Regions from separate parts of the Homo sapiens genome. Here region 1 is linked to region 2. The links are contacts of gene promoters, found by promoter capture Hi-C in human tissues and cell types (Jung and others, 2019). All regions are on one chromosome and are shown on one strand. Each heading gives the region's core, a stretch centred on a gene start or on the middle of the fragment in contact. The rest is flanking DNA. Distances are from core to core; before and after follow the strand shown.

What was found. Contacts are between HindIII fragments. The study calls those that stand out against the background at their distance.
Region 1: a contact is called between a fragment that was not itself captured here and the fragment with the promoter of KCTD8 in region 2, in 1 of the 25 tissues and cell types used here (dorsolateral prefrontal cortex).

The regions. Positions count from the first base shown.
Region 1 is chr4:44,394,059-44,397,842 of GRCh38, reverse strand. All of the region lies in intron 1 of KCTD8 (potassium channel tetramerization domain containing 8), which reads left to right. Among named protein-coding and RNA genes, the nearest start is that of KCTD8, 53 kb to the left of the region's middle. The HindIII fragment of the contact is 3,687 bases long and covers 599-3,784 here.
Region 2 is chr4:44,446,407-44,450,235 of GRCh38, reverse strand. It overlaps KCTD8 (potassium channel tetramerization domain containing 8), which reads left to right and starts at 1,427. Exons shown (of 2, transcript NM_198353.3): 1 at 1,427-2,673. The coding sequence starts at 1,713. The HindIII fragment of the contact is 6,980 bases long and covers 1-3,829 here.

The DNA.
Region 1 (3,784 bases), core at 1,193-3,692, 53 kb after region 2:
AGAAAAGTTTAAAATTCTTGTAATGTTTTCTCGCATATTAAGAACATTTGCCAGTGTATTTTAGTTTCAACACATTAGCAACAAGAAATCCTAACTTCTTCTTTCTAGAGAATTACTTCATTTTTTTGTAAGAAGATATAATCTCATTTTTACAAAAGATAAGTAATTCAGGAATGTTGGAAGAAAAAGAAAAATTATTCAAATTATTCAGATGGAATACTATTGCCAACTGCAGTTGACATTCCAGTAATCTCTTTAAGACTTGGTTCCTCCGCTTAAAATTTTGTGCTTTAAGTATGAACTCCTATTTACCAATCTAATTATTGTCTTTTGTGTATATGTATGTATGTTTATATGTGTATGTGCCAGTGGGTATATACAAAACCCTCATACCCACACACACATGCATGCACACATACACAAACACTTTCTATCTACCTATATCTACATATATATGAATGTGCATACATATATATACATATAAACATAATGTATACGTATATGAGTATTAGAGAAATGGGCTCAATATTTGCTACTTATAGTCAAGGAACTTATAAATCAATAACACTGATTTCACTAATTTCACTTGTGATCTACAAAAGGGGCTATTAACTCCATGTTTCTGTATTTTTCATTTTTATAGAAACTGATTCATTTAGGTTTAGGCATGGTATCTTTATGTTAGGTACAATCAATCACAATTCATAATCTAGCAATCTAGTTAACTTAAGAACCTGAGAAACTGTGGCTTAAACAAATTAAGGGGTTATTTTTTGTTCATGTGAAAGGGTCCAGATGGAGCCAGCATAGGAATGTTATTGAGGTCCTAGTGTCCCTAGAAGCCAGGCTCCTTTTAGCTTTGTTAGCCATTCTTGGAGTGTGATACTTATTTTTGGAAGTTGACTGCTGGAGTTCAACTACCGGGCTTGAATTTTAAGCTGTGAGAGGAAGGCAAAGGACAAAATGGGGTCATATCAGTTGAGTTCATTAGTTTATTCTTTTCTTTTTAGAAGCTCTCTTAAACCTCCTAACAATTTATATTTCCACTGCATGGGTCTGAAATGTGTGATGAGGCCGTTCCTGCACACTAAGAAGGTGGTTCTCTTAGTAAAGTGGTGAAGGTACTAAGTATGCAACTAATGAATTCTGGTGCAGATATTTCCCTAATAGGTTAGGGTAACCAAGATTTGACCTGATTTTTTTCTTAGATGTTAATCAGCTCATTGTTTTGTGTTTTGTGTGCCTGTGTGTTTGTCCAGAATTTTTATGTTAATGAGAAAAAAACATGAAAAAGTTGAAGTTGTTTTAAAGTTTTCTGACCTGACTTTAAGAAGAAACAAAATGGCAAGTATCTGTTTAATGTGATAGAATTAAAAGAAAAAAAAAAACAACTTTCCTTGAGTAGTTCTTGGAGCAAACACTCTATAGTGCACTCTATAGTGCAGTGGTCCCCAAACCCCAGGCCACAGACCTGTACCTGTCCATAGCCATTTAGAAAGCAGGCTGCAAAGCAGGAGGTGAGTGATGAGCAAGCCAGTGAAGCTTCATTTTGTCTGTTATTTACAGCTGCTCCCCTATCACTTGCGTTACTGCCTGAGCTCTGCCTCCTGTCAGATCAGTGGCTGCATTAGAGTCTCATAGGAGTGCAAACCCTATTGTGAACTGTGCCTGCGAGGGATCTAGGTTGCATGCTCCTTATGAGAATCTTGTGACTGATGATCTGTCACTGTCTCTCATCACCCCCAGATGGGACCATCTAGCTGCAGGAAAACAAGCTCAGGGCTCCCACTGATTCTAGATTATGGTGACTTGTATAATTATTTCATTATATACCGCAGTGTAATAATAATAGAAATAAAGTGTACAATAATAGAAATAAAGTGTACAATTAATGTACTTGAATCATCCTCAAACCATCCCTAACCTCTTCCCCTGTCCATAAAAAAAATTGTCTTCCACAACACCAGTCCCTGGTGCCAAAATGGTTGGAGACTGCTGCTATATAGTGGGATTGATACTGGTGAGCTAGGGGAGGTCCTCAAATGCGGGTGGAACCTCACCCCCAGCCAGTGTCTGGGCTCTTGACACAGCCGTGAGAAGAAATTCAAGGACCAGTCAGAAAATAGTAAAAGTACGAACATTTTTTGCAAAGGTAAATGTATACACTCAAGAAAGGGGACTGTGGGCATAATCAAGAGAGAGTCACACACAAGGGGTGTGTGACTGCTACCTTTATGGGTTTCTTTAACCAAGGAGTGAAATATTTATGAAGACTTCTGGAAAAAGGTGAAGATTTCTTGGAACTGTGCCATCCATTTTTATGCCGAATATGGGTGTTCCCAGAATCCTCATGGTGCTGGTGGGTGTGTGATTTAGGATGTTAATGAGCATATAATGAGGTCCTAGGTGAAACCTAAGTCAAATCAGGTACCGTGTTGTGTCCAGTTACTCTTAGCCAGATTGGCCTACACCCTATTTCAGGGTCTTTTCGGCCCCTAGCTTATGCAGCTATGTCAACAGTTTCCTTTTGCTAATCATGTGAAACTGCTTCCTGGAATTTTCTATTCTCCTGTGACCACCCTGTATTATTCCTGTCTCAGGATCACACGCTATCCCTTTACCTCTCCCTTCTCTCATTACTGTTTTTTTGTAGACTATCAAAATCTAAACATGCCCTTTTCTTACCTTTCTTGCTGCAAAAGTTGGAGATATCACACAGTTCTGGCTACTAACCATTGGAGGAAGTCTTCTGGGAATGTGCCCAGGAAAACTTTTGTGTTCATTACAAAGGGAAATCTAGAGGGTAATATCACCACTTTCCCTTTCTCCTTGCTGTAAACACAACTATCATGCCTGAAACCTGAGCAGCTATCTTGAGAACACGAAGGACCATCATGAAGGAAAAGCCTTGATAATCACAGAGTTAAGGCCTCTATTGTCGAGTCACTGGAACAAGACCTACATCAGAACCTGAATGTTTTTGTGATGTGAGAAAATGTTGCAATAAGTTTTTTCATTATTTTTTGGTAAATTCATGCTCAATTAATGTGTCTATTTCTTCACTGAATCAAGTAAAGTTTTGTTTTTGTTTGTGTTTTTGAGATCTTGGTCTGGTTTAGAGTTGTAAGCAAAATCCCTAGATGTAATGCTTCACCTGTCTTATAGCACATACGACATAGCAAAATTGTGTGGGTCAAATTATCCGATTTGAATTCAGTGAGGTTTAATGATGTCAGAGAGACAGATTTGAAGCCAGGATCTGATCTTAAGGAATCAAAATAAAAATAGGATTCATAATGACCACATCAGTGAGTTTTTATGACATTAAATATGATAATATGGGAATACATATTGCACAGACATTGAATTTCTTTTGAAATATGCACTTGTAAAAAGACCAAAGGGTATTTTTTTTTCTTTCTTTCTGAGTTTAAGCTTTCTTTGAGACATACTATGGTTTTATGTTGGGTTCATGGGATTTGGAAGCTCAAAGAAGATATGTACTCAAATCCCACTCCTATGAATTGTGAAGTTGGGCTAGTTACTTGATTTTTAGAAACTGTATTTCTTTGCCTGTATAAAAGGGCATAGTAGCAACTCCCCTTAACTGAGGCGATGGATGTGAAAGCTTCTAGTGCTTGCCATGTTTTTGGCAATCACTAGATTATATTTTTTGTTCTGAATCATTTGAGTTTACTACTCGTAATTAGGTTTTTGGAATGAATTTTCTATATTTTGAAATAAGTATTATTTTCAGCACTTCCTAATGATTTAATGAGAAAGT
Region 2 (3,829 bases), core at 178-2,677:
ATGATTTAAACATAATTTGTAATGTTCCAAAAATAATGTATTAATTTACAACCGTATCTGAAATTTGATACTTTTTTGGGTGGTTTGAAGAAAAGGAGTTGTTAGTAGGCATTTAACTTTTTAAAAAATATTAAAATCTGTATATCGACTGCTAATGGATAAAGTTCATCTGTAATATTGTTATGATAATTGAAGCAAACTACTTTGTGCCACAATACACCCTTTTCTCTTTTGTACTTCATAAATCAATGATTCTTTATGTTTCTGAACACAGATGTATGCCCCAGGGTAGAAGAAATATTTCTCATTTGCTTTCCTATTTTCAGTCTTTATCACAAGTAATGCTCATTTTGCAGACTGTACCTGTACTATGTACACATGGAAATTAAGGTGAGCTTAAATTCATATAATTTTTATTTGTGACCTTACTCTTGGGGTTAGAAGACTAATAAAAATATCAGCCACTTCTCTTGTTTGATGGAGCTGAAAGGGAAATGGAGAGATTAATGAGACTGATCAGGATTAGAAAGAATGAACAAATCGAGTAAATTTCCTCTCGGGCTCCGTCTCTCCCTCTATAAACATTTATTAAGCATCTAATTTAAAACTAAAAATTGTAAAAATGTCGGAAGGAAACAGTTGTTACATACACTCCTTTATTATTGTGAACTGAAAGCAGATTACAAAGTTTTAAAAATTATTCAAGGATATTCAGTGCACGCAGTCGTGAAATTTGATTCCAAGAGAGGTACGCGCATTTAGCCCTTCACTTAAACTGTATCATAAAGCCACTACAAGAGATGTACCTTCCCACCCTCACGTAATCTTTTTGCAATCACTGCTGGCAAGCCAACATTTGTGGTGATTTCAGATTAGGAGCCTGGCATCTTTGCTATAATCAAAACCTTATTCTCCCCTCTCCGCTCCTCCACTCCTTACCTTAATGAAAGTGCAAAAAACTAGTTTTACTGGGGAGGGAGGCAAGGAAGGAAGGAAGAGAAGAAGGAAAGGAGGGAGGAAAGGGGGTGGCACAGACCCAAGGAGGGAGTGAAATGAAGGAATGAGAGCGCTGTCCCTTTTTCTCGCTTTTGCTTTAGGAGCTCCCTGCCTGCCTGTCCCCGCGGGTCGGGGAGCTGCACCTCTTGCAGGCTCGGCTCTCGGCCCCGCCCCCTAGCGTCGGAGCCCGGGAGCCGCGGCTGCAGCCTATCTCTTTAAATGACAGCTGAGGCTCGGGTCCCAGTCCGGGGCTTGACGTCAGTGCCTCCTCCCGTGCTGCCAGGAGTAGTTAGCGCCACCGTCGGCGCTCCGGCCTCGCGGCACGCTTGCAAGCTGCCGGGGCGGCGAGTTTTCTTTGCTTCGGCCCCTCCTCCCGCCCTCCCCACGGAGAGCCGAGCAGCAGCCCTAGAGCCTCTCGCAAGTCTCTCTCACACTTCCCCGCCCTCGCCCCAAAGGAGCAGCAGCTCCTTCTTGCCTCTCCATTGCCGCCGCCGCACCGGCGGAGCTCCTCTCTCGCGCGTCTCTCCTCCGATGGAGCTCGGGCGCCGCCGACGCCGCCGCTGCCCCGAACCCTGAGCGGGGCCGCCCCGGTCGGAGGAACGCGCCGCCCAGTCCGAGGGCGCAGAGCGCCAGGAGCACGCGGAGGGCTGGGGCGCGGGCTCCGGGAACGAGAAAGTGCAGCTCTCTCGGGTCACTGGGCCGGCGGCGGGGGGACTATGGCTCTGAAGGACACGGGCAGCGGCGGCAGCACCATCCTGCCCATTAGCGAGATGGTTTCCTCGTCCAGCTCGCCCGGCGCGTCGGCCGCCGCCGCCCCGGGGCCCTGCGCACCCTCGCCCTTCCCTGAAGTAGTGGAGCTGAACGTAGGCGGCCAGGTTTATGTGACCAAGCACTCGACGCTGCTCAGCGTCCCGGACAGTACTTTGGCCAGCATGTTCTCGCCCTCTAGTCCCCGTGGCGGCGCCCGGCGCCGGGGCGAGCTGCCCAGGGACAGCCGGGCGCGCTTCTTCATCGACCGGGACGGCTTCCTTTTCAGGTACGTGCTGGATTATCTGCGGGACAAGCAACTCGCGCTGCCGGAGCACTTCCCCGAGAAGGAGCGGCTGCTGCGCGAGGCCGAGTATTTCCAGCTCACCGACTTGGTCAAGCTGCTGTCGCCCAAGGTCACCAAGCAGAACTCTCTCAACGACGAGGGCTGCCAGAGCGACCTGGAGGACAACGTCTCGCAGGGTAGCAGCGACGCGCTGCTGCTGCGCGGGGCGGCGGCCGCCGTGCCCTCGGGCCCGGGAGCGCACGGTGGTGGCGGCGGCGGCGGCGCGCAGGACAAGCGCTCGGGCTTCCTCACGCTGGGCTACCGGGGCTCCTACACCACCGTGCGCGACAACCAGGCCGACGCCAAATTCCGGCGTGTGGCGCGCATCATGGTGTGCGGGCGCATCGCGCTGGCCAAGGAGGTCTTCGGGGACACGCTCAACGAGAGCCGCGACCCCGACCGGCAGCCGGAGAAGTACACGTCCCGCTTCTACCTCAAGTTCACCTACTTGGAGCAGGCCTTTGATCGCCTGTCCGAGGCCGGCTTCCACATGGTGGCGTGTAACTCCTCGGGCACCGCCGCCTTCGTCAACCAGTACCGCGACGACAAGATCTGGAGCAGCTACACCGAGTACATTTTCTTCCGTAAGTTCGCAGCCCCGGCGTTTCCCAGCACCCCTCGCCCCCTGCTGAGCCGCCGCCAGTTTGAGCCCCGCTGGAGGCCCCGCGGGGGTGTCCGGGGCAGGCGCTGGTTAACTCCTTATAGAGAGCGGCTCTCCCTGCACGATTCCCTTATGCAGTAGACACGATTTACATTTCACCGATTCGGATATTTCCGTCTCTACTCCCCCTTTCTAGAACTCAGTAGCACCCAGCTCCCAGCTGTCTACTTGCTGAACTTTATTGATCTTGCCTTCTCGGCCCAGCCCGCTCCCAGATGCCAGGGTCTCCTCGGTTGCGGAGGACAGGGTGGGAGAGACTGGGGCACAGGGCAGGGTGCATAGACCCTCCTCCACCCCTTTGCTTTTGCAGGACTGCTGGGGGTCATTTCATGTGGCCCTCAGTGGTGTCCCTGCAGAGGGCAGGATGCCATAACAAGGCATCGCCTCGCACCACCTGGATCACCTGCTGTTGGTGCAGCTGCCGCGCGGGAGCCTCCAGTTACGGGTGGTTTTCTAGAGGGCAGGGGAGAAGCGATAAAGGTGCCCCCAGAGCCCCTCGAGGGGGCGGGGGCATGAGAGCGGGTGTGGGGAAAGGGGACTCCTTGACAGATGGAAACCCAGATTTCCCTGCGTCTGTTATCTCCAGTCTAATTGCCCAGTGTTTGGGACAGGGGAGGGTGGAAGGAATTAGAAAGTTTGCATGTCTGAGTGCTGCTCTTAGGGTTGGAGATTAGGAGGGGCAAGGGAGGAGGGAGGGAAGGTGTTGGGGAGGGAGGGGAAGAGAAAGAGAGAATGATTGTGTTTCCTTCTCCAGCGCGAAAGCGGGGGTTGAGTCCACTTTCTCAGGGTGAATAAATAGAGCGATTTTCTGAAATGAGAGAATGAAGGAATAGATTTGGGAAAGCATCTGGGGTGCGTTTTGCAGTGCGCTTCCGGAGCGGGCTATGTGGAGTTCAAGAACTATACCAAATACCATAATCTGAACCTGGGGATTGGGAGTGGGATTGGGAGTGGGGTGGGGCTGTGGTGGGCACAATTCTCAGTGGCGTTTATGAAGTGAAAAGACAACGACTAGAGAGCGATTTGGACAAACGAAAAGCCAGCTGGGATGGCAGCAGGAACATTATTTGGCAAAGGTT